Linked DNA regions of Homo sapiens: all the other regions are linked to region 6. The links are contacts of gene promoters, found by promoter capture Hi-C in blood cells and fetal thymus (Javierre and others, 2016). All regions are on one chromosome and are shown on one strand. The core of a region is centred on a gene start or on the middle of the fragment in contact, and the rest is flanking DNA. Distances in the headings are between cores, read along the strand shown. Region 1 overlaps SND1 (staphylococcal nuclease and tudor domain containing 1). Region 2 overlaps SND1 (staphylococcal nuclease and tudor domain containing 1). Region 3 overlaps SND1 (staphylococcal nuclease and tudor domain containing 1). Region 4 has its middle 5.6 kb from the start of LEP. Region 5 has its middle 35 kb from the start of LEP. Region 6 holds the start of LRRC4 (leucine rich repeat containing 4). Region 7 overlaps SND1 (staphylococcal nuclease and tudor domain containing 1).

Region 1 (3,650 bases), core at 530-3,029, 240 kb after region 6:
AGACCAAAACATGCCCACTGGAAGTTCAGCAAGAGCAGTTTCAGTCAGATTTTAGTGGGTCGCATAGTTGATCAAATGTACATGATTAATGTACACGAATCTTTCAAGAAAGAATGGCAGCTAAAGGAGGGTATTGGGTCAAGAGAGAACATGGATTTTATTTTGTTTAAAAAGTGAAAATCGACTTTATTAAATGAGTAAATTAAAAGGTACAAAAAAGGACAGCTGAGAGCATTTCTGTCACAATACAGAAAGACTGGATTATGAATGATTCATAAATATTCTATTCTCTAATCTGCTAATTACAAACTGTATGATCTGGGAACCATGTATTTGTCTCCAACAGGGACTCAAACTTATTCATCTCTGTAGCCTCCAGCACCTAGTACTGAGTCTGACACATGTTATACACTCAATTAATATTTGTTGAATAAAATTACTTAATCTCTCTGGACTTTCATTTCCTTCTCTGTTTAAAAAAAGAGAGAGAAAGGGTTGACTAGATCTAAATGATGTTCCTTCTAACTCTAAATGCCCATCGGCCTGTAAATGTTACATAAAATGGGTCAATTCCCTATGATTCCTGGAAAACATGCCACATTGTAACATTCATATTCAACCAAGGGTGTGAGAAATCAAAGCAGCACCCGTTTCGCCTACTAGTGAGAATATATGCATTCCTGAAATCCTCCTTTGAGGTGGAAATGTCTCCATTAAATCAGGTCATAGAAAGGAAATCAAAGTTAGATCCCTTCAGAAAATGTTTGGATAAATGCAACTTCTTCCCCTCCCCTCCCCCAGTGCTAGTTGTCAGTCTGCACAGACACTGGCATGACTTGAAAACCTTAAAAAATAGAAAAGAAGCCTTTAAAAGTTCATTTTCAAAAATTCAAAGATAATAAATCTACAGTTGTGTAAATGTCTTACGTCTTTTAGGCCTCTTACTCATTAAGTTTTAATCCAAATTGGGAGCCAGGGAGGAAGGAAAGGAAGAACAGAGAGAGAAGGAAAAGGAACAAAGAGCAAAATTTCAAAAGTCCTCTGTATCTGCAGGCAGCTAACAGGAAATACTTGTGGCACATTAAAACATCAACACAAATCAACAGATTCTCAGAGGATCAAATGAAAAACCAACTTCCCATTATTATCAGGAAAGCTACACAGCCTTAAAAATTGGAAGGCAACTGCCTTGAGCCTAAGAGTTCAAGACCAGCCTGGGCAACATAGTGAGACCTTGACTTTACAATGAAAATTTAAATATTAGGCAGGCATGGTAGTACACAGCTGTAGAACCAGGTACTTGGGAGGCTGAGGCAGGAGGATAGCTTGAGCCCAGCAATTTGAGGCTGCAGTGAGCTAGGATACAGCCACTGTACTATAACCTGGGTAACAGAGCAAGGCCCTGTCCCCCCTCAAAAACAAACAAACAAAGGAAAATCAATAAAAACCAACAAACAAAAAGCATAAAAAGACAGAAGAAAAGGTGTGCCAATGAGCAGATGACAATGATGAGAAGTTTAAAGTATGTACCAGAGGTTCCCTCACAAGGAGATGGGGTAGAAACTACAAGCAAATATGCAATCTGGGCCAGTCACAAAGGGATTTCTTATTCAGAGAGCCACTAAAAAATGGGTTATGTACAGGATATCACATCCATTAATCATTCCAAACTTCCTTGTAGTTTAACTCATATGCTAATTTCTTTCTTAAAAACAAACAAGGCCGGGCGCGGTGGCTCACGCCTGTAATCCCAGCACTTTGGGAGGCCGAGATGGGCGGATCACGAGGTTAGGAGATCGAGACCATCCTGGCTAACACGGTGAAACCCCGTCTCTACTAAAAATACAAAAATTAGCCGGGCATGGTGGCGCGCGCCTGTAGTCCCAGCTACACGGGAGGCTGAGGCAGGAGAATGGCGTGAACCCGGGAGGCGGAGCTAGCAGTGAGTCGAGATCGCGCCACTGCACTCCAGCCTGGGCGACAGAGCGAAACTCCGTCTCAAAAAACAAACAAACAAACAAACAAACAAAACAAAACAAAACAAAAAAACACTATGCAGCAAAGAAATCTATAGCAAAAGGGATAAGGAAAACCAAGAGCCAGTCAAGGAAAAAGTGGAGTAAAGAAACTCATAGTCCTTGTCTTGAAGGGAGGGCTGTTACCCCAAATCCTGATCTCCATGGCTTATTTTAACTCTTTAGAACAGTTAAGTTCTGCATACCAGCAGAATACATAGTTAACAAGGAGTGGGCAGAGAAATTGTTCCCAATGAGATTTTAAGTGAGTCATGCTCAGTAATCCAGATGACTTCTTTACTTATCTAACTGAACAATGTATTTTATCCAAGAAGCCATTAAAAGGGCAATGCATAAGCCTAAAATACATAGCGATCAATTTAAAATGAAATTCAAGAGAAAAATGAAATGGGTATAAAACAGATCATCTTTTAAGGAGCTCAAGATTTACCAAATTTACCCTCAAATTTTAAGTTGCAGTGTGGTAAAACCCTGGGTCTTTAAGGATAATTGAAGAAGCAGGCATTAGAAAAGGGTAAAGAAAAAAAAAAAGGATGTCAACAAATCACATAAAACTGGTCCAGGCTTCAGGAAGTGTCCGCAAAAATGTCCCTCAAATTTTTTTTAGACATCTTTCCTGATGCAAGCAGATGTTAAGGTAGAAACCAAATAATTGTTTTATTTTCTTCTGTACATGCTTAGAAAGCAGAAGGCACAGGAAGGAACCAGGACTAAATAAACATGCAGCATAGCTGGGGTTATTGAGGCAGGCAGATCTTCTGCAATCTCAGTATAACTTAAATTCAATGATCTGTGCCAAGAATCAGGTAATAGAAAAATTTAAGTATCCAATACATATTGTCCTTAAACACTATCCTGTCAGCCACCATTAAATACCATTTTGGTAGCCTGTAAAATTGATATTTCATATCTACTGAGTATACAATGAATAACTATGAGAAAGCATTCAAGACTTTAGATACACATTTGAGGTTTTGCAAATAAACACTAAGAATCAATTCAACAGCAAGAATGCTAACTAAATTTCATGACTATCGAACATCTAGCAATTACAGTCACCCAGAAAGATATTGAATTGTTAGATCACTTTTAGGCCAAAAGGCTTAAATGGCTCAAGTTCCCCAATGGCCATCAAGGATGGTATTTCTTAAAGAATGTCATCTCACCACTAATAAACTCATATAAGATTTTTCTCTTTCCTTCTGTGAAGAGCATGCATCAGAATTCACAAGATGAATCAATATCACTTCTGTCTCTGCATACTCAGGAATCATCCCACAAAACTCAAGCAGTTATTAAAAAATCTTGGAGGAGGGCTTCATGACTAGCCCTTGTTTCTCTATGCTGTTCATCTTCCAATTAATTTCTACTTTGACTTCCCTTCCTTCCTTCCACTGGTCAATCTAAATGCATTCCTGGCCGGGCATGGTGGCTTACTCCTATAATCCCAGCACTGTGGGAGGCCAAGGTGGAAGGATTACTTGAGGCCAGAACTTCTCAACCAGCCTGAGCAGCATAGTGAGATATCATCTCTACCAGAAAAGGTGTGGTGCTGTGTCCCTGTAGTCCCAGCTACTTGGGAGGCTGAGGCAGGAGGTCAAGGCAGGAGCTGAG
Region 2 (3,583 bases), core at 890-3,389, 230 kb after region 6:
TAACAGGCTCACAAATAAGAAATGAAGTGTTTGTAATTACCCAAACTGGAAACAAATGGTCTTTAACACAGACATAGAGGCATAAACTGTATTACAGAAGAAGCTCAATTAAGTATTAGGACCCTTCAAATATTTATAGATATTTTAAATCCAATTCTATTACTCAAAAAATCTTTACTGAGCACCTACCAACTGTTAGTTCCATACAAAGCATTCTGTAAATACATATATAATCCTGGACTCAAAAATTATGAAACTTAAAATAGTAATAACAGAAATCCTACAGATATGAAATAGCAACACAAAGCAGTTTTTTTCTTCCTTTTTTTTCAGACAGAGTCTTGCTCTGTTGCCCAGGCTGGAGTGCAGGGGCATGATCTTGGCTCACTGCAACCTCCGCCTCCTGGGTTCAAGCAACTCTTGTGCCTCAGCCTCCACAGTAGCTGGGATTACAGGCATGTGTCACCACACCCAGCTAATTTTTGTATTTTTAGTAGAGATGGGGTTTCACCTATTGGCTAGGCTGGTCTCAAACTCCTGACCTCAAATGATCCACCTGCCTCTGCCTCCCACCCAAAGTGCTGGGATTACAGGCCTGAGCCATCACACCTGGACAAGTGTTTTGATTAAGTGCTATGCTAATACATGTGATACAGACTAGGGACTAAATGCTATAAGTGTTCAGGGAAGTGGAAAGAAGTAATCAGGAAATGTTTCATTGACAAGGTCAGATTTAATATGAGTTTGCAGGATAGTAAAGAAATAGGAGGAAAATTAAAGTTGGAAAAAACAGAAAAACCAAAAGAAGAGAGGCAGGAAGAAATAGTATGTCAACACATACACACTTACTTCATTATCTCATAGGCCCCAGACTTCTCCTAAAAGAGGTGGCTATTCTAAGCAATGCCATTTTTAGATGATATAAGAGGGTCTATCTAGATGAAGGTAACAGAAGTAGGAAAGGACAGGAGCCCGAGAGATGATGAGAACCACTTGAAGAAATGAATTAACGGGAACTGACAATGGTGTAGAAAGGGAGGATAAAGGAGTAGGAATCCAATGTGGAGTCATGATGACATGCGTAAGTCAAGAGACTTTTGTCTTTGTATAAGAAATAAGAGATCCTGACTACACCAGTTGGTATACTTCACTTTAATGTTTCCCTCCCAGAAGCCTATAAGTTCCAAGACAAAAAAGACCCATTTGTTTTTCTTTAACTCCCCAGAGCCAAGTACAGTACCTCCCTCATTAGTACATACTCAATAACTACAGTTAGATTTAAGTAGCTCCAAAGAAACATGCAGACTGATATACAAAGATCAAGTATGCTAGGAGAACAGGACTGCTTTGCAGACTTGAGAACCTCCAGGAAAATATTTGCAAAAAGTATAGAAAGACAGGAGAAAATCAAGGACTAACCCCTACCCTAGATGTACACCATTGATTCCACATCCTCTATGCTTATCCAATCTGGCCGAACCTTTGCCACCTATTATGCACCTGACAAAACAAGACACCTCTGTGCAGTCCAAACTGTACTCAAAGCAGATATTACATTTTTTCCTAAATAGCCGCTACTCTTAAGTAAACAGCCTTCATCATTTCAATGCCCCATTTAAAAATCATCCTAAGGTCGATATTATGGTTAAGGGGATCTATGAAATAGATGCTTCCTCCTCGATGCAAACTAAGCCTCCATGCCTCTAGCACATACAAACATTTCAATTCATTGACTACGACCAAGAAAATCTCTTATGAGAATGCAGATAACACTTTCAGTGTCAAGGAAATTTGAGTTTCATATTCACTAATCAGCTGTTTTCTACCTCCTGTTAAAAAAAGTGGGGGCAGAGGGCATAATGATCATCATTCCAGTGCTCTTCTAGAAACTTAAGGTAGCTCCTTCTCCCAGATCATATGTGGAAATCAACATACTCCAGATAGAAGCCTCTGGGGTGGCTGAGCTCTGATCAAGGCCCAGGTGTGTCATGATCACTGTCTAATGGGAAGGATATGACCGTAAACATGAAAATCTTTAGAGGAACAAAATAACATTGAGGTTTTCTTATAGAAAATAAAGGAAATGGGATGCATAGAAATTGCCTGGGTTAGGGGAATCCTGGTTAACACAAGGGACAGATGTACAGGATTATGGATATTTTATAAAAATAGATTACAAATCAGAGATCTCTTAAGGAGCCAAGTGTAACATAAGCTGTAAAGCAGAGTTGGTGATGGCGCTCAATCATACGTAAGAATGCTTGCCAGACAGAAGATACCAGGTGCCGGTAATAAACAGGATTTTAAATAAAGACAAAATCAATGGTTATCACAACCAGCCCTCAGGAATAAAGAAGTGTCAGCGTACTCATATTCACCAAACAACAGTGGACATTCTATTTTCTGAGGGTAGCTCTGTGATTACTAAAGACTAAGTGAACATTTTGAAAAATGAATTGAACAAAATAACGACACTGACCTTACATAGCCTTATGATTTGCCTCAGAACCCAAAATCCTGCAACTTACCTACATTTTTTTTTTTTTAAAGATATGGGGTCTTACTATGTTGCTCAGGCTAGTCTTGAACTCCTGGCTTCAGGCAGTCCTCCCATCTCGGCCTCCTGAGTAGCTAGGACTATAAGCATGCACCGCTACATCTGTCTCCCCACATATTCTGAAACAGCACAGAGGTAGAAAGGAATGTCAGTTGGCTGTAATTCCAAAACTAGGAATAAAAGGTAAGAAACACTGTTCCAATGAGCCTTCAAATGAAGATTATGGGTTGAGGTACAACTAAATGTTTGAAAATGTTTGTCTAAATAAGAATCTTGCTTTTAAGACACTCCACAGGACAAAATACCCTCAAAAGAATGAAGGAAAATAAAAAGTGTATCAACAAACATCCCAATAAAAAACAAGGCACCTTCAGAGTCTGATTATATGTCTCTCATGAAGCTAGAAAAGAACTAATAGCACAAGCAGAAAACAAGATACCACAGAATGATCTTGTTACTCTAACCCCTCAGAGCTAGTAGCTATTGACATCTGCAAACATCTTACAAGAGAGATATTAGAAGTCCCTGAGAAACCACAAAATAAAAGCAATTCCTGCAAATTACCAGGTATATAAAAGCCTTTGAAATCTCCAAGAGGCAAGTGAGGTATGGAATGTATTCTCAATTCTCAGAAAACAGGACTTTAGCTGAATTTTGCCTGCTTAAACAGAACTGTCTAGTTTAGATTCTAATTTACATGGAAATATTTTTTAAAAAATAAAAATAGGAAAAAATGCTTGCTTCATAAACTCGTGGGTGGATAATACACAAACCAATATGTGCTGTAATCACTGTTCATCCTGAGAAATGACATTGCATGTAGGCCCTGCAATGACTCACATTAGAGATGGAAGAGGTAACGTCAGTCATCTGTACCTCTCATCAGTTTGGGAAGGAGGCCCAATATCCACATCTCAGCATCTGAAGATACAGCTAGCATTTTTTCAGGAAGGTATTTTTGGCTGGTTGCCAAAATTGGGAGTCTGGCCAATGTTCATTAGGAGGGAATGAAAGAGAACTTGAATC
Region 3 (3,766 bases), core at 363-2,862, 190 kb after region 6:
GACTGGGAGAAAATGTTGGCAAAAGACATAACTAATAAAGAACATTTATCTAAAATATACAAAAAACTCTTAAAACTCAACAATAATAAAACAACCTGATTTTAAAATGCAAAAGATCCAAACAGCTTACTAAAGAATACATACAAGTGGCAAATAAGAACAGGAAAAGATGTTCTACATTACATGTGATTAGAAAATTGCCAACTTAAACAACAATGAGATACCACTGCTCGTTGTAGCATAGTCAAAATTCAGAACACTGACAACACCAAAGGCAGGCAAGGATGTGGAGCAATAGGAACTCTAATTCATTGATGGTAGGAATGCAAAATGATACAGCCACTTTGGAAGATAGTTTAGTCATTTCTTATAGAACTGAACATGTACTCTTACCATTTGATCCAGGAATACAGCTCCTTGAAATTTACTTGAGGAGTTGAAAACATACACAAAACCTGCCCATGGATATTAACAGTGGCTTTGTTCATAACTGTCAAAATGTGGAAGGAATCCATATATCCTTCAGTAGGTGAATGGATAAATTGTGGTATATCCAGATGACAGAATATTATTCAGTGATAAAAAGAAATGAGCTATCAAGCCATGAAAAGACATGGAGGAAGCTTAGACATATATTACTAAGTGAAAGCAGACACTTTAAAAGGTGTACTGTATGATTCCAACTATACGACATTCTAGAAAAGGTTAAACTACAAAGACAATAAAAATATCAGTGGTTGCCAGGAGTTAGAAGGAGAGAAGGAATTTTGCCAGGAGTTATAGGCAGAGAATAGGGAATTTTTAGCGTAATGAAACTATTCTGTACGACACTATAGTGGTGAATACATGCCACTATACATATATCAAAGCCCACAGATGATATAACACCAAGCACAAACCCTATGGACTTTGTGTGATAATGATGTGTTAAGGTAGGCTCAACAATTGTAATAAATATACCACTCTGGTGTGGAAGATTGTGTGTAGGGGGCAGAAGGTATATGGGAAATCTCTGTAACTTCTGCTCAATTCTCCTGTTAATCCAAAACTGCTCTAAAAAAAAAAGTCCATTTTAAAAAGAAAGAAAAAAGCTGATAACCAAAGATGTAAATCAAACAACTAAACACATAGGTCCCCACAGCAATTTTACTTTACAGAGAAGAGGTTTGCAACATTCCTGTTGGACTCCTAGACATTATGATAAAGCAGTGCTTTAACCTCTTCTGGGTCAGACTACTTTGAAAACCTGTATTTAAAAATATGAACTGCCTCCATAGAAAAACTCCATATAATCTGTCTGTCACAGCTTCCTAAGGACCAGATTAAGAGTTATTAAGAACAACAAACAAGGTGGGCACAATAGCTTGCTCCTATAACTGCAGCACTTTGGAAGGCCCAGGTAGAAGAATTGCTTGAGGCCAGGAGTTCAAGACCAGTCTGGGAAACAAAGCAAGACCCCCATCTCTCTGAAAAATAAAAAATATAAATAAATAAATACATAGAAGAACAAACAAGATAACAATTACAAAGATGCTTGGAATTGGTTTCACAGTATGTAAATCAAAAAGATACAGCTAATTAAGCCCAACACCAACATACTTGAGAGTTAAGCAGTGTGCAGGTAGGGGAGATAGAATGGACTAGATGAATCCTTAGATTTTGAATTAATTTTGCAGACAGGAAGTTAGACGCACAAAATGCAAAAATGGTTTAACCCTAGAATACACTAAATAAATGGATATGAACACACTAAACAATGCTTTTTTATTATGAAAACTTTGAAGATAAACATAGTATCCTGTAGCAAACATATAGGGCAAGTCTTCACAGAATGAAGTTGTAGGCTTGGTTTGGGTCAAAACCAAGGTTTACAAACCCACACTGAAGAGGTGCATGGGGATCAAGGAGACGGAAGCCTTCTCCACAGTCTGGAATCCCTTTTCTAAATACATCTTCAGCTCTCACTGATCAGCTTAAAGACAGCATATTGCAGAAGCATGGAGTTCAGCCACACTGCTAGTGAGCACCGTTAAAATCCTTTCAAACTGTCTTCTCTTCAAAAACTCATCTTGAAAATGAACATGGAAATCTGGAAAAGGATAGATGCCTCAAAATTCCAACTGTCAGATCACCCACTTGAACACTCCATTGAATCATGCTTTAGAAGCAGCAGAATGGAGCCATATCAGAGCCCAAGCCAATTAAGGGCTGAGGTTAAGGTAAATCATTCTTATGAGAAGTATGGTCATAGCACAACAACACAGAAAGTAAGAAAATATAAAGATGACTCCTAAAATTAGATACCTAGCTTTAAATTATTGCAAGGTCTTAACAACTACTATAAAACTCAGGAAATGAGTAAAAATGTGAGAAATGTGTTCAGACAGGGGGATTGAACAACTAGTGCCCTCCAACAAAAAGGTTTTTAATACTTTCCCTGCATGCTGCTGGCCAGAGTTAATATAGGCCAAAAAAAGGGCAAGGAATGAGAGGGCTGCACACAGACAGGCCTGAGTAACTCAGAACCAGGGAAGGGAAGAAGTGGTCTTGATGCTAATACACCCTGGAACTCTCCTCAGACAAGGCCTCACAACAAGCTTATAGAAGCAGGTGAGGAAAACAACAAGATAGCTGGAGTCATGGCAAAAAATCACGAGTGTACAGAAGGTAGACAGTGAAGGTGGCTATACCATGTAAAGTATCTCAGGGCCCATTTTAAATAGGACAAGGCCACAGGGTATGGTCCAATTTGGGGGCATTCGCTGGGAAGTTAATAAATATGTGGAAATGAGGAACGAGGTCCATGTATCTTTCGTGTTTTCACCCAATCCATCTAACAAGCTCAAGCCCTCAATTCTACTACCTAGGGAAAAAATCAGCACTGCTTAAAAAAAAAAACTAAGTTAATCTCAAGGTTACCTTGTGCCTCCCAATGCCAAATCTCCTTCTCAGTAGGCAGACAGGGGTGGGACAGCAGCTGTTTAGCACAGAGGAACATTAGCTCTCAACCCAGAGAGAGAGCTAATTCATCAAGAGGGCTAATTCACTATGCCACATGTGTGGGAGTAATAATAGGAGGAATAACAAACAAAAGTGAACACCTGTGTATCTCTCAGGCCAGAAGGCCAAAGTGAGGTGCTGTTCCAAAACTGTCTTCCAGGGAAATCAGTGGGAAGACAAAAAAATTTTAATCTTCAATAACCAAAAGAAACAACTACATTCACCTGCCAATTAATTGTTTCCCATATCAAGAGAATAAGAACTGTAAATAAGTCAGAGATTAAACAGTTATTTGTGGATGCAACATTATTAAAGAAAATCTGAAATACAAATGAGGCCCGGAGAATAGCCCACAGCCAAGATATACACCTGCAGGCAGCTATGACAAATCAGGAATTAAAGTCAATGTGTAATTAGCATTTGTGTCCCTCCCCTGTGGATTCTGAGATCTCTTCCTCTACCCTGGAATTTTTCATCTCAAGATATTCAACACTGACCTGTCAATCACTTGAAAAAGAACCATGGTTTTAACAGCTTCAATTAAAACCAGTGTAAATCTTAGCAACATCTTCGTCTAAATAAATGATAACCTGAATTTTGTGTTTGTGGGTAAGTATGTATAAAACGGCATGAGAGAAGAAACTGATTAATATAGATGGGTTCTCCTTTTTAAGATATTCCTGAAATGTTTTGTATGCAAGTATTTTACGAATACATGACCAAGGGCTATATAACTGACTCAGACCCTGATCCCTGTTTATAGCAA
Region 4 (3,390 bases), core at 704-3,203, 200 kb before region 6:
TTAACCCAAGACTATTTATTTAGCTCATAATTCTGTGGGTCCAGCAATATGGCCTGACTCATGCCTGTGGTGGCTGGCTGGCTATCAGCTAAGATGATGAGGGTAACTGGTCTAGCCTGGGCTTGTTTACATGGTGACAGCTGCTGGATTCCCTAGAGCAGCAAAAGATGGCAAACCCCAATGAGCAAGCACTTTTCAAGTCTCTGCTAACATCCTGTTTCCTGTTGACCAAAGCAAGTCACATGGTCAAACCCAGAGTAACTGGGAGATTACCCAACCCAGCAATAGAGGGAGGCACCACTAGATTGGGACCTTACTGTAATCAGCCCATCACGGGAAAGGGTGTCACACTGAACTTATGACAAGCTTAGCCAGCAGCAAGTATCAGCACAGGCAGCTAAGTGGCTACACAGAGAAAAGGGCAACTCAACAAGGGCAGGAAAGGATACAGAGAGGCCAAGTCAGCCAGAATGGAGCTTTGAGGAGTGAGAGAGAAAATCCTTGCAAAGAAAGGTAACAAGCAGCTGGGTTTTGAAAGGCCTTCGCAGACAGTGGGAGCCATTAAAGTCACCAGAGGAGATTCACGTGGTCGAGTCACCACTTTGGAAGATTCAACTGGCAGAGACATATAGGAAGGATTGCAAGGAATAAAACAAGGATTGCAAGAAATACAGGAAGGATTGCAAGAAATAAAAATCAAGGTGACAAATTATTAAAACTTACTTATTTGCCCATTTTTTCATGCATTCATTCATTGAACCAAGAGGCATACATTGAAGGCATACTGTGCACTGGGTACTATGCTAGATCCTAGAGATTCCAAAATGAGAAAGGTACAGCCCTGGAGCTCAGCAGTGACTCAGGAGCATGAGTGAGGGGTAGTGGGGAGACAGAAAAGACAGATTCAAAATAAATTTTGAAGAAAAGAACACCAACCCTCTTTGCCCTAGGGAAAAAGTGATCATATTTCCATACACTTTCCCATCTACAGCTCAATGCTGCTCGTAGAGACACAGAAGGAGTGGGTGAGACTAAGATGCTTCATGTGGACATGGTTGCTGAGGACACCCAGCTGCTGGTATTCAGCAGTTAACTGGGGCTACAGTCCAGGTAAGGGACCAAGGATAGAGACACAATCCAGGCACGCTCTGCAAGGACACAAAAGATGACTTCTTTTGAAATCAGGGTTGTGGGGACCAGCAGGCTCGGGCCAGTGAAACATTTTATAATCTGCAAGGATTTGAGCAGATCAGTACACAGTGAAGGGTGTGGAAAGGACAGAGTAGAGATGGGAGTTTGCTGGTGTGAAGATCAGAAAGAGCTCGGTGGAAGCCACATGCAATAGAGGGCACATTGGAGCTTAGCAGCCCATATAAGTGTGGGGAAAGAGTCCTGCAAGGGACAAAGCAAGAACAGTGACTTTCCCCTCCCTGTAATTATTTAATTGCCCAAATAATCATGTGCATTGCAGAAAATTAGAAAAGGCAGAGAAGCAAAGCCATGAGAAAAAGTCATCCCTCATCACACCACGCTGAGATAACCCCTGTTAATATGTTTGTGCTGATCTGCCTGGACTTGGTAACAGCCTCTTACATCCTCGGTTGGAAGCCAGCCTGGAAACCCTGAAGAAACAAATGACAGCCAAGAGGACAATGGCAACCAGCTCCCCCTCTGGGCGGCATGCTCTTTCTCTCACTTGGTTGGTCTTTCCCATTGGAGCGGAAGGACTCGAGCCATGATCCTTTGTAGAGCTGGACCCTGCCCAGGTACCCAGGGCTGCACAGGCATTTGGAGAGATGTTCTGGAGAAGCAGCAAGAAGCCTTGTGCCCTGCAGAAAGCTGTGATCTGACACATCCTGAGGCGTCCCAAGTCTCCAGCTCTACGTTTGTCCCTAAAGAGGTGTTTTGCCAGACTGCTTGCATAAGCACCTCTAGATAAGCCTCTAGCAGCAAGATTATGGCTCAGTAGGATTCACCACTTGCACCTGCAGCTGGAGTAGGAAAGAAGGCGGGCTTCAGAGCCGAGAATGCAAGCCCCTGGGAAGGCCCTGTGCACTCAGTGCTCTGCTGGGCCCTGGATGGTCCCACGGAAGTGAAAGTCACAATTCATGCCTTCGAGGAATCCATAGTCTTCCAGCAAAAATTTGGAAACAACTCAGAATCACCATGCAAATGTGGCTGTGATAGCAATTATCTGCCAGGGGGCTGCATGGCGTGGTGTCTTCCGGGCTGACCCTGGGGCTGCACTGCCTGGGTTTGAATCCTGGCTCTGCATAGTACTTTGGGTAATCGCTTGTGCTCTCTCTGCCTCCGTTGCTTCATTTGTCACAAAAGCATCACAGTACCCACTTATAGTGTTGTCATGAGAATCGTTTGGATTATTACAAGTAGAGTACTCTGCAAGTGTTCATTATGGATTAGAGCAGGGGCTTTTGAAGCACACGGCATAGTGGAGTTAGTCCGGAAGGCTGCCTGAAGAAGGCTCCTGCTTCGCATGAGCTAAGCAGTACAGCAGGGAAGGAGTCTGAATATGCCTGCTCAGCTGGGTGGAACACAGTGACCAGAAAAATCTATCCATCCTGCTTTTATGCAACCATCGGGCCTGAGGTCTGGTTGTCCCATTATGGCCTGTAATGGAGCCGAGGAGTCAGAGGATCTGTTTGCCCAGGGCCGAGGCAGCTTGTTGCATAACCAGGGTTGCTGTATGGCACTTTGCAGAGGAGGGCATGGCTGAGAAGTGTGTCCCAGCAGCCGGGAGCTCAGGGGGACTCTCCTGGCCTAAGCAGTGCAGCTCCCCAGCACCCACCTCCTACCCGCATGTGCCTCAGATGGGAATCATTGTCCTGTGCCAGGAGATATCATTTTCAAAAATAGAGTATCTTTTATTCTGATTAAACAAATAGTGAACATCATAGAAAACATCCAGAAAAGAGAATTAAAATTTCTTATTAATCCACTACCCTGAAATCATGAAAGTTTTATATTTTTGATACATGACTTTTCTCTCTCCCTTGTGTCTCTACGTTTGTATATATTTTTTACTATCAGAAATAGTATCATGTAGTACACAGTATTTTGCAAATGCCTTAAGTTTCTTTTCATGTCATTAAATATTCTTCCATGATGTAATTTACAACTCCTGCATTGTGTGAATATGCCATAAATTATTTAGTCAAACTCTATGAATGAAAATTTAGGTCATTTTCAATGATTTTTCTCTTTTATAAATAAGGCTCTCATGCATAATCTTATAGATAAATCTCTGCAAATACTCATGCTTATTTCCTTAAGATCATTTCTGAAAGCTGGGTTCACAGGCATGCAAATATTTATGGCCTTGGATGCCCACTGCAAGGGCTCTCGGATGAGACTCTCAGGGATGGCTTCCTT
Region 5 (3,469 bases), core at 755-3,254, 240 kb before region 6:
CATATGGTTCGCACATGTTTAACTTTGTAAGAAACAGCCATACTGTTTTCCAGAATGGCTGTTCCATTTTGCATCCTCAGCAGCAATACATGATAAGTGATCCAGTTTTCCATAACCTTTTTTTTTTTTTTTTGAGACAGCGTCTCACTCTTATTGTCCAGGTTGGAGTGCAGTGGCGTGATCTCAGCTCACTGCAACCTCCGCCTCCCCAGTTCAAGTGATTCTCCCACCTCAGCCTCCCAAGTAGCTGGGATTACAGGCGCCTGCCACCACGCTTGGCTAATTTTTGTATTTTCAGTAGAGACAGGGTTTCACGTGTTGGCCAGGCTAGTCTGAAACTCCTGACCTCAGGTGATCTGCCTGCCTCGGCCTCCCAAAGTGCTGGGATTACAGGAGTGAGCCACCACACCTGGCCATTTTTGGTAGAGACGGGGTTTTGCCACGCTGGGCCAGGCTGGTCTCGAACACCTGATCTCAAGTGATCCACCCACCTTGGCCTCCCAAGGTGCTGGAATTACAGAAGTGAGCCACCACGCCTGGCCTCAGTTTTCCACATCCTTGAGAGCATTTGGTTTTATCATTATTTTTTATTTTAGTCATTCTGGTAGGTGTGCAGTGATAGCTCGCTGTGCATTTCCCTAATGTCTAACGATGTTAAACATCTTTTCATGTGCATGCTATTTGCTATCTGCATATCCTCTTCAGTGAAAAGTCTGTTCATGTCTTTTGCTTATTTTTAAAATTATATTGTTTTTTCACTCTTGCGTTTGGAGAGTTCTTTATATAGTCTAGATACTGTCCTTTGTCAGATATGTAGTTTGCATATATTTTCTCCCAGTCTGTAGCTTGTTTTCTCATCTTCTCAACTAGATTTTTCACAGAGCAAAAGTTTTTTAATTTTTATGAGGTCCAGTTGCTCCAACATTTGTTGAAAAAGCTCTCCCAGGGCCAGGCGCAGTGGCTCATGCCTGTAATCCCAGTACTTTGGGAGGCCGAGGTGGGTGGATCGCCTGAGGTCAGGAGTTTGAGACCAGCCTGGCCAACATGGTGAAACCCCCATCTCTACTAAAAATACAAAATTTAGCCGGGTGTGGTGGTGCACACCTATAATCCCAGCTACTTGGGAGGCTGAGGCAGGAGAATCACTTGAACCCAGGAGGCGGAGGTTGCAGTGAGCTGAGATCTCGCCACTGCACTCTAGCCTGGGCATCAGAGAGAGACTCCGTCTGAAAAAAAAAAAAAAAAAAAAAAAAGAAAGAAAGAAAGAAAGAAGGAGGGAAGGAAAGAAGGAAGGAAAGAAAGAAAGAAAGAAAGAAAAAGAAAGAAAGAGCTCTCCTTCTTCTCTTGAATTGCCTTTGTACCTTTGTCAAAATCAGTTGGGCCTATTTGCGTGGATCTATTATAATTTAATTTTTAAAAATAGCTATGTTTAACAACCAGTTCACGGCTCTCTCAGCAGGTTCTGACATAAGTTTGGTCAGCCCCTCCAGTTTTCCCCACAACCTCAGCATTTGACTTTGTGTCCTGCTTCTGTGGCAAAATAGTACCCACATGACAATTCCCTTTCCTCATCTCCAAGTCTACAAACCTGCACGCCCACCACCTCAGGTCTGTGCTTGCCTTCACCCTCCTGCTGGAAGAAAAGACCCCAACCCTCCTCCCTTCTGAGGCCAGAGCACCTGGTGCTCTGAATTCTGAACCCCTGCCCCCCCACTTCCTTAGACACCTCAGCCCAATGTTTATCCCTCCTGCTCTCCAGGCTCTCAGAATTCTTTTTATTTTCTTTTTATTTTTTTTATTATTTTGAGACAGGATCTTGCTCTGTCACCCAGGCTGGAGTGCAGTGGGGTGATCATAGTTCACTGAAGCCTCAACTTCCCCAGCTCAAGCGATCCTCCTGCCTCAGCCTTTTGAGTAGCTAGGACCACAGGTGTTTGCCACCATACCTGGCTAATTTTTTTCTTTTTTAAATTTTTGATAGAGACAGGGTCTCAGTATGCCCAGGCTGGTCTCAAACTCCTGGCCTCAAGTGATCCTCCCTCCTTGGCCTCCCAAAGTGCTAGGATTACAGGCATAAGCCACCATGATGGCCAGGCCCAGGCTCTCAGAATTCAAACAGATGTGCTTCCCAGGCCCATGCTCCAGGTCTGCCCTGCCTCCCCCTCAAGCTCTCCTTCCCACTCCCTCATCACATCTCCCATTCAGTAACTTGTTCCAAGAACCAGTTTCCACTTCCTCCCCCACTCTCCCTCCTCAATATACTTTGGTCTCCTTTTAGTCCAACCACAGTGCTGAAGCTGTCCTCCTCAGGTTCTCCAAGCAACTGAACTGTCCCCGAATCCCACCTGTGTGATCTCCATTGACGCTCTGCATAGCTGGCACTGCCATATTCTCAAGACATTGCCTCTCTGGGCCCCCATGTAGCCCTCTCTTCTGATTGGTTCCTGGTTTCTGCTTCCTCTCTCCTTGTTCCTCACATTTTGGGATTCCCCAGGGCTCTTCCTGGCCCTCGGCCCTCTCTCCCCCACACTCTCCCAGGGCAGGGTGATCCTGCCTGCTGGTGCCTCGCCCCCAGATCTCCCTGCCTATCTAGGCTGTCTCCTCAGTGCCACCCCCGGAGCAGAACACCTCCTCCTCAAGTCCCCTTGGGGCTCTTGCAGGTGCCTCAAACTCTACCTGGCCCAAGCCCATGGAGCTCAGCCCCTCTTCCCCACTCCTCCCACAATCAGTGGTCCCCAGTCCCATTTGCCTCAGCCACTCTTCTCACCCTACCCCTGCACCCAGCAATCACCAAAGCTGTCCATTCTGCTCCTGCCTCTCCCTTGAAGCCTTCTTTTCTCCTTCCCTGCTACCACTGGTTCTGGTCACCAGGATCCCTCATCTGGACTGGGGCAGCAGCCTCCTAACTGGTCTATCTATCCCCCACCCAGTGCATTCTCCACACTTCAGCCACAGTGACCTTCCTAAAGTGCAAATCTGACCATGTCACCTCTTAGCTTAGAGCCTTCTACTGGTTCCCCCAGCCCTCAGCACAAAGTCCATTTGAAGTGGACCTTGTGTGATCTGGCCTGGCCCAACTCCCCCTTTCATGCCAAGGGAGCTGCGCTTCATTCAGTTGCTCAGTGGAACTCAGGGCCTCTCTTTTTAAAAAATTGAGATATAATTCATATACCATACAATTCACCATTTTAAAGTACAAAATTCAATGGGTCTTGATATATTCACAAGATTGTGCAACAGTCACTGCTGTCTCATTCCACAGCATTTTTATCACCCCAAAAAGAACTTCTGCCTATTAGCAGTTATTGCCCATTCCCTCTCCCAACCCTGGCAAATACCAACCCGCTTTCTGTCTCTATGGATTTACTCATCCTGAACACTGTCTACAGATGGAATCACATAGCATGTGGCCCTTTGTTTCTGGCTTCTTCCACTGAACATACTGTTTTCAAGGTTCCAGGGCCTCTCT
Region 6 (3,755 bases), core at 182-2,681:
CCGCAACCCTCATTAAGGAAACCCTCATTTAAAGCCCCAGTGAGAGCACAGGAGGGGTGAGGCAAAGCGAAGGAGGGGCTGGCGGCAGTGCAGCAGCGAAGCCCGGGCTCTCGGTCCTGGGAGCCTCGTGGCCCCGGCCGCCGTCCCCCGAGTCCCCACCACGCAGTTCCGAACTCCGAACGCGAGTCCGCGCCCCGTCAGCAGTCAGCGGGGGTGAGGATGACGCGGGCCGGGCGAGAGGCAGGCCAAATGCAGCAGCCCCGCCGCGGGCCGCCGGGCCCCTGAGCCCCGCTCTTCAGAGCCAGGGGGCCCCGGGTGCGGGCCGGAGGGCGGGGGCCGGCGCGGGCTCTCCCGCCGCAGCCCCGCGCCGCTCCAGCCTATCAGCGGCCACCCAACTGCTCCCTCCGACCGGCCCAAAATAGCTGCGAACGCCTGCGACTTGCGCGCGGCCCCTCACTTGACGCTCACTCCGGCTCGCTCGCCCGCTCGCCCTGGCCCCGCTCCGCTCGTCTAGAGGGGGCGGGGAGGAAGCGGCCCGGGGAGGGGGGAGGGGGGAGGGGGAGAGAGGAAGAGAGGAGGAAGGAAGGAGGAAAGAGGAAGACGGGCGGCCGGAGGCGCGGGGCTGCGCGGCGCCGGCCGGCGCGGCGCTGGAAGGCGCCGGCGTTAACCCCGCGAGGCAGGCGACGGAGGGGGAGCGGCGCTAATACATAAGAGCACTGCATCACGCTAATCTTCTCCCAGAACAGTATGCGTCAGCAGTACATTCACGTTCTGACTGAAGGACAAAAGGATGAGAGAGCAGTCTGCGTGGCTGCCGCCTGCAACACCGCGAGCCCGGCGCGAGGAGGAGACGGTGGGCGCCGCGCGCAGGGGCCCCGCTGCTGCTGCTGCCGCCGCTAGCCAGCGGGGACTATGTTCCTGGGCTCCGGAGCGTTTCCCGCAGCCGCGACCCCCGCTGCTCACGCCGCTGCAGCAGTCCGCTGGCGGCGCGGCCACTGAGGGCGCCGGGAGCCGAAGCCGCGAACTCGCTCCCTCCGCACAAAGCCGGAGCCGGCGGCGCGCCGGGGGCCGGGCAGCGGCGGGCGGCGACGGGCGGTTGCGCGCCGCCGGGGGCTGCGGCCGCCGCCGCCGCCGGACCCGCGCCCGCCCCCGGACTCTCTGAAGGGGCCTGCGGTGCGGGCGCGACCGCGGGCGCCGCGCGCTCCTCCGGCCGGCGGACCGGGTCCGAGCGCAGCCGCCACGCCGCTGGTCCTCGGGGGCCGGACGGAGCGCCGCCCCGCGTGCCGGCAGCCGGCGGACTGGAGAACTGACCCCCCGTTTTTGTCTCTTCCACCCTCCGAGAAGAGGCGAGGAGAAAGGGGGTGTGTGTCTGGGGAGGGCGAAGGCGCCGCGAACACCTCCTCTTAACTCTCGCCGCTCCGCGAGCTCACGACCGCAATCAGCTGCCGCCGGCCCGGAGCGGCCGACGCCGGGAGAGGGAGCGCAGCATCCAGCGAGTGCGGCCTGGGCGGCTTCGGGGCGCCCCCGCACTCCCTCCGGCGGCGGCCCGCAGAGCGGGCCGGGGCCGCCGGAGCGCACTTTGGCGATGAAGCGCCTTCCCCCGCGGCTGGAGCGAGCCGGTGCCAGGGTCCAAGGACAAAGCCGGGAAGCGCTGGTGGCGCCGCTCCTTGGGCGGAGGGGGGGGCATGCACCTGCATAGCCCGCCGGGCCTTGGCTCTCCCAGGCGCGCCTCAACTCCGCGGCTTCGCCGGCTCCGGCTCCGGATTTACTAGAGGCCATTTTGTCTCCCCCACCCCTTCCCTCCCCTCCCCTCCCCTCCCCTCTGCCCTCCCCGCCCCCACCACTTCCCCCTTTTGTTAATTAAAACTAAGAAGTCGGAATGGGAACGAGGTGCCCAGCTCCCGTGGAGAAAGCTTAAGGACACCACGCCAGTGCTTTCCTGCCTTCCTTCCGAGGTAGGTGACGGCGAACTGGGTGGGGACGGTTGCAGTGTGGGAGAGTCGTAGCTTTCGGAGGGCTTGCCTTGAGGGTGGGTTGGGAGACCAGGGGCCGCTCGAGTTTGGCAGGATTTTTTTCGGCCGATCCGCTCCGTCTCTCTAATCGCCCCCTCCCCACCTCCTTCTCCAGATGGAAAGAGGAGCTCCTAGCTCACTTAAGCCGGGGTAGGGCTGGTTCTCCTTTCCGAGCCAAAATCCCAGGCGATGGTGAATTATGAACGTGCCACACCATGAAGCTCTTGTGGCAGGTAACTGTGCACCACCACACCTGGAATGCCATCCTGCTCCCGTTCGTCTACCTCACGGCGCAAGTGTGGATTCTGTGTGCAGCCATCGCTGCTGCCGCCTCAGCCGGGCCCCAGAACTGCCCCTCCGTCTGCTCGTGCAGTAACCAGTTCAGCAAGGTGGTGTGCACGCGCCGGGGCCTCTCCGAGGTCCCGCAGGGTATTCCCTCGAACACCCGGTACCTCAACCTCATGGAGAACAACATCCAGATGATCCAGGCCGACACCTTCCGCCACCTCCACCACCTGGAGGTCCTGCAGTTGGGCAGGAACTCCATCCGGCAGATTGAGGTGGGGGCCTTCAACGGCCTGGCCAGCCTCAACACCCTGGAGCTGTTCGACAACTGGCTGACAGTCATCCCTAGCGGGGCCTTTGAATACCTGTCCAAGCTGCGGGAGCTCTGGCTTCGCAACAACCCCATCGAAAGCATCCCCTCTTACGCCTTCAACCGGGTGCCCTCCCTCATGCGCCTGGACTTGGGGGAGCTCAAGAAGCTGGAGTATATCTCTGAGGGAGCTTTTGAGGGGCTGTTCAACCTCAAGTATCTGAACTTGGGCATGTGCAACATTAAAGACATGCCCAATCTCACCCCCCTGGTGGGGCTGGAGGAGCTGGAGATGTCAGGGAACCACTTCCCTGAGATCAGGCCTGGCTCCTTCCATGGCCTGAGCTCCCTCAAGAAGCTCTGGGTCATGAACTCACAGGTCAGCCTGATTGAGCGGAATGCTTTTGACGGGCTGGCTTCACTTGTGGAACTCAACTTGGCCCACAATAACCTCTCTTCTTTGCCCCATGACCTCTTTACCCCGCTGAGGTACCTGGTGGAGTTGCATCTACACCACAACCCTTGGAACTGTGATTGTGACATTCTGTGGCTAGCCTGGTGGCTTCGAGAGTATATACCCACCAATTCCACCTGCTGTGGCCGCTGTCATGCTCCCATGCACATGCGAGGCCGCTACCTCGTGGAGGTGGACCAGGCCTCCTTCCAGTGCTCTGCCCCCTTCATCATGGACGCACCTCGAGACCTCAACATTTCTGAGGGTCGGATGGCAGAACTTAAGTGTCGGACTCCCCCTATGTCCTCCGTGAAGTGGTTGCTGCCCAATGGGACAGTGCTCAGCCACGCCTCCCGCCACCCAAGGATCTCTGTCCTCAACGACGGCACCTTGAACTTTTCCCACGTGCTGCTTTCAGACACTGGGGTGTACACATGCATGGTGACCAATGTTGCAGGCAACTCCAACGCCTCGGCCTACCTCAATGTGAGCACGGCTGAGCTTAACACCTCCAACTACAGCTTCTTCACCACAGTAACAGTGGAGACCACGGAGATCTCGCCTGAGGACACAACGCGAAAGTACAAGCCTGTTCCTACCACGTCCACTGGTTACCAGCCGGCATATACCACCTCTACCACGGTGCTCATTCAGACTACCCGTGTGCCCAAGCAGGTGGCAGTACCCGCGACAG
Region 7 (3,677 bases), core at 862-3,361, 210 kb after region 6:
GGCATGTTGAGAATAAAATGATACTTATTAATAAAACCCGCATAATAAATGGTTAAAACTGACAGAAGATTATAAAATGAAATGCCATATCAGATCTAATAAGTATTTGATTAGTGACATCTGCTATAATTCCTGTGAATATGCATCGTGATAAACATAAGAATAGAATAAATTAAGTAATATCCAATGATAAGTCTGGGCTAAAAAGTCTAGAAAAACAATCCATAGTTAATAGGGCTGGGGAGCGGTGGAAAGATACATCAATAACATCTACAATGACAATACAAGAGTTATTAATCATTCACAGAAGCTAAACAATTTGCCCCCAAATTATGAAAAGGGGTATTTTGAAAGAGATGTGAAATATAAATTGCAAAGTCATAATTTGCAATTAGGCTAGGTTATAAAACAGTAAACACAAAATGTATCTGCATAGGAAAAATTAATTTTAAAAAATGATCAATATTTAAATTTTTAACGATTTAATTATTGGAAGATTTCATTTTAAATTCCAACTCTTAATTGGTTAAGTGAGCTTTTAAGGGATAAATTAAAATGAAAGCTTTACTTTAAATCAGAATGAAAAGGGCCACAGTTATCACCTAGAGCACTCATACACTGTAAGAGAAAACAGATTCAGAAGTTATGTGGCTTCCCCAAGTTTAAACATCTAGTTACTAAAAGAGTTATAACTAAGATCCTAAATATCAGAATAATATCTGAAGTGCGAGGATAGGAAACCACGTAAAAGGTATAGTATCAACATCATTTCAATAAAGAAAGTCTATTTTATGCCTGGATTGAACTTCAGTCTGGAAAGGCCAGCCCAAGGGCCTTCCAAGTTGGAGTCATTTTAGAAGCTACCCTTTAAAAGAAATGAATGACACAGGGAGATGGCTAAGAGGGTGGTCCACAAGAAGACTGACATACAGAGACCTCCAAATTCTGTTAATGACTCTGGCTCTCTCCAAAACTATCCACTCTACAGCTATACCTCTTGCTGATCTATATAAAAGCACGTCAAAAATTTTAAAAATTTAAAAAAGGGAGTATTTGTTGCTATGTTGTTTTAAAATAAGGGAATCATAAATTAATCATTAGTACCTAGGCTAAATGGTATTTAAGATAAAAAAGGGAATGAAATTAAGGTTTAATATGAGAGAAGTAAAACCCCAGGAAACAAAAAACGTTGACTTTTTCAATGAGATAAAATACAAGGACATAAAAGGATGGGAAAAATCTATCAAGCTTCTTAAATGACCAAATCCTATGTAAGAAAGTGCTCAACACTGTCAATAAATAGACATAGAAGATTTTTGTCTTTAACTCTTCTAATCTTTACATCCTCTCAAATCTAGATGACTATAATTTTGTAGGGCTTAGTGAATCTAGTTGATACCAATATACAGTATGGCTTGTTTATTAAAACAAAATAAAACCACATCACCATAGTTCAAAAAAAAATAAGATGAACATACACCAGTTAAATAAATTATATACTCATGGAATAAAATAACATAAAGCCATTAAAATCAATACATAAAAGTTTATTTAAGGATGTGAGGAGATGTTCAGAATCCACTGTCAACTTTATTTTATTTTTGAGACTGAGTTTCGCTCTTGTGGCCCAGGCTGGAGTGTGGTGGCGCAATCTTGGCTCACTGCAACCTCCACCTCCTAGGTTCAAGTAATTCACCTGCCTCAGCCTCCCAAGTAGCTGGGATTATGGGCACCTGCCACCATGCCCAGCTAATTTTTGTATTTTTAGTAGAGATGGGGGTTTCGCCATGTTGGCCAGGTGGTCTCAAACTCCTGACCTCAGGTGATCCACCGCCTCGGCTTCCCAAAGTGCTGGGATTACAGGCATGAGCCACCACGCCCGGCCTCCATTGTCCATTTTAAAAAAGGACACACAGACAGATTAGAATATAAATGTATAAGTGAAAGAAAATACACCAAAATGTTATTTGAATTACTTTTATTTTTCCTTTATACTTGCCAAACTTAGCATAATAAACATATATTGCTTTTATAATCAGAAAAAAATACAGAAGAGACATGGAAGATATTCATGGTTCAGGTATGTTCTGGCCAGGTGCGGTGGCTCACGCCTGTAATCCCACACTTTGGGAGGCCGGGGTGGGCGGATCACCTGAAGTCGGGAGTTCAAGACCAGCCTGGCCAACATGGCGAAATCCCGTCTCTACTAAAGTACAAAAATTAGCTGGGCATGGTGGCACACACTATTAATCCCAGCTACTCGGGAGGTTGAGGCACAAGAATTGCTTGAACCTGGGAGGCAGAGGTTGTAGTGAACCAAGATCATACCACTACACTTCAGCCTGGGCAACAAGAACAAAATTCAGTTTCAAAAAAAAAAAAAGGTGGCCAGGAGCAGTGGCTCACGCCTGTCACCCCAGCACTTTGGGAGGCCAAGGCAGGTGGATCATGTGGTCAGGAGATTGAGACCATCCTGGCCAACATGGTGAAACCCCATCTCTACTAAAAATACAAAAATTAGCCAGGTGTGGTGGCATGCGCCTGTAGTCCCAGCTACTCAGGAGACTAAGGCAGGAGAATCACTTGAACCCGGGAGGCGGAGATTGCAGTGAGCCCACATCGCGCCATTGCACTCCAGCCTTGGTGACAGAGCAAGGCTCTGTCTCTTATTTAAAAAAAATATATGTTTTAAGGTAACATTAGTAACTGTCATTTCTAAAAAGCAGTGACACATATATTACTGTCAATAAGGGAGATTAGATTCCCTACATATAATTCTCCAGCTGGCTTGTAATCAACCCACCAATTTTTATTCGGTGTCCACATGTTTCTACTCCCTTTCAAGTAACAAAACTATTATAGTTGTACATACATTCCAGAAAACAGACCAAAAATTTGGCAAATACACCATCTGAGGTGGAAGACAATGGGGTTAGTCACAAAGAAGATGAAGATTAGAGGTTTGTAAAGCTTTCCAAGGTCAGGAACTAAGAAAACAGGATGGTAAACAACAGCAAAATGGTTAGAACTACTAAAAATGATGACATTCCACTGCTCATCAAGTATTTTTTAAAGCAAGCTGAAAAAAAAAAGAATGCATGAGGAGTCTCATATATGTGCAAACATTAAAGGAATACTCCATCTTTTTTTTAGCACTGGGACTGCTACTCTTGCTGAAGTGACGGAAGAGAAGAAAAGATAAAGTAATTGGGACAATGAAAATGGATAAAGATCAGAATTTTCATTCTAGGCTATACAGAGCTGAAATGGATCCCAAACCTAATTGCTTCAGTCCTTAGAATAAACAACTTATCAAGAATCAGGTAGCAAGAAGGAAAACCACAGAGGTGGCCTTGAACACTTGTTATGTCTCCAATGAACAAGGAGAGAAAACAGATTTCATCTACATCACGGAATATGGCTTATAAAAACAAAATAAAACCTCAATACTTTCCCAAGAACAAAGCACCAACTGCCTTTCCTTGAAGAATTAAAAGAACTGGTAGATAAGTTTTCTGAGATGACAAATAACACTATTGCTGTGGATGTATATAAAATCAGATTTTTTTCTATCACCTAGTGCAGTCAATATGCACTTAATTTTGAAAGGGGTATTATTTAAAATCAGTGGAAACTTAAAGATACCACCATGGGAAAAGGATAGTATAAAAATATAG

Evidence for each region. Contacts are between HindIII fragments. The CHiCAGO score rates a contact against its expected background, and 5 or more counts as called.
Region 1: a contact is called between a fragment that was not itself captured here and the fragment with the promoter of LRRC4 in region 6, in 3 of 17 cell types (neutrophils, M2 macrophages and M0 macrophages). The highest score is 8.4, in neutrophils.
Region 2: a fragment that was not itself captured here is called in contact with the fragment with the promoter of LRRC4 in region 6 in 1 of 17 cell types (M2 macrophages); the score reaches 5.7 in M2 macrophages.
Region 3: a contact is called between a fragment that was not itself captured here and the fragment with the promoter of LRRC4 in region 6, in 2 of 17 cell types (M2 macrophages and neutrophils). The highest score is 6.0, in M2 macrophages.
Region 4: a contact is called between a fragment that was not itself captured here and the fragment with the promoter of LRRC4 in region 6, in 1 of 17 cell types (neutrophils). The highest score is 6.1, in neutrophils.
Region 5: a contact is called between a fragment that was not itself captured here and the fragment with the promoter of LRRC4 in region 6, in 1 of 17 cell types (neutrophils). The highest score is 5.0, in neutrophils.
Region 7: a contact is called between a fragment that was not itself captured here and the fragment with the promoter of LRRC4 in region 6, in 2 of 17 cell types (M0 macrophages and neutrophils). The highest score is 6.1, in M0 macrophages.

Annotation. Positions count from the first base shown.
Region 1 is chr7:127,785,012-127,788,661 of GRCh38, reverse strand. All of the region lies in intron 10 of SND1 (staphylococcal nuclease and tudor domain containing 1), which reads right to left. Among named protein-coding and RNA genes, the nearest start is that of SND1, 130 kb to the right of the region's middle. The HindIII fragment of the contact is 4,854 bases long and covers 1-3,650 here.
Region 2 is chr7:127,803,706-127,807,288 of GRCh38, reverse strand. The region is part of intron 10 of SND1 (staphylococcal nuclease and tudor domain containing 1); the gene reads right to left. Among named protein-coding and RNA genes, the nearest start is that of SND1, 150 kb to the right of the region's middle. The HindIII fragment of the contact is 4,814 bases long and covers 1-3,583 here.
Region 3 is chr7:127,840,400-127,844,165 of GRCh38, reverse strand. The region is part of intron 11 of SND1 (staphylococcal nuclease and tudor domain containing 1); the gene reads right to left. Among named protein-coding and RNA genes, the nearest start is that of SND1-IT1, 160 kb to the left of the region's middle. The HindIII fragment of the contact is 1,974 bases long and covers 626-2,599 here.
Region 4 is chr7:128,233,978-128,237,367 of GRCh38, reverse strand. No RefSeq gene overlaps it. Among named protein-coding and RNA genes, the nearest start is that of LEP, 5.6 kb to the left of the region's middle. RefSeq lists an enhancer at 134-273. The HindIII fragment of the contact is 3,169 bases long and covers 369-3,390 here.
Region 5 is chr7:128,274,958-128,278,426 of GRCh38, reverse strand. No RefSeq gene overlaps it. Among named protein-coding and RNA genes, the nearest start is that of LEP, 35 kb to the right of the region's middle. The HindIII fragment of the contact is 4,130 bases long and covers 1-3,469 here.
Region 6 is chr7:128,029,113-128,032,867 of GRCh38, reverse strand. It overlaps LRRC4 (leucine rich repeat containing 4), which reads left to right and starts at 1,431. Exons shown (of 2, transcript NM_022143.5): 1 at 1,431-1,955; 2 at 2,128-3,755. The coding sequence starts at 2,228. The region is part of intron 16 of SND1 (staphylococcal nuclease and tudor domain containing 1); the gene reads right to left. RefSeq lists silencers at 148-217, 868-987. The HindIII fragment of the contact is 11,709 bases long and covers 1-1,915 here.
Region 7 is chr7:127,824,118-127,827,794 of GRCh38, reverse strand. All of the region lies in intron 11 of SND1 (staphylococcal nuclease and tudor domain containing 1), which reads right to left. Among named protein-coding and RNA genes, the nearest start is that of SND1-IT1, 170 kb to the left of the region's middle. The HindIII fragment of the contact is 1,722 bases long and covers 1,251-2,972 here.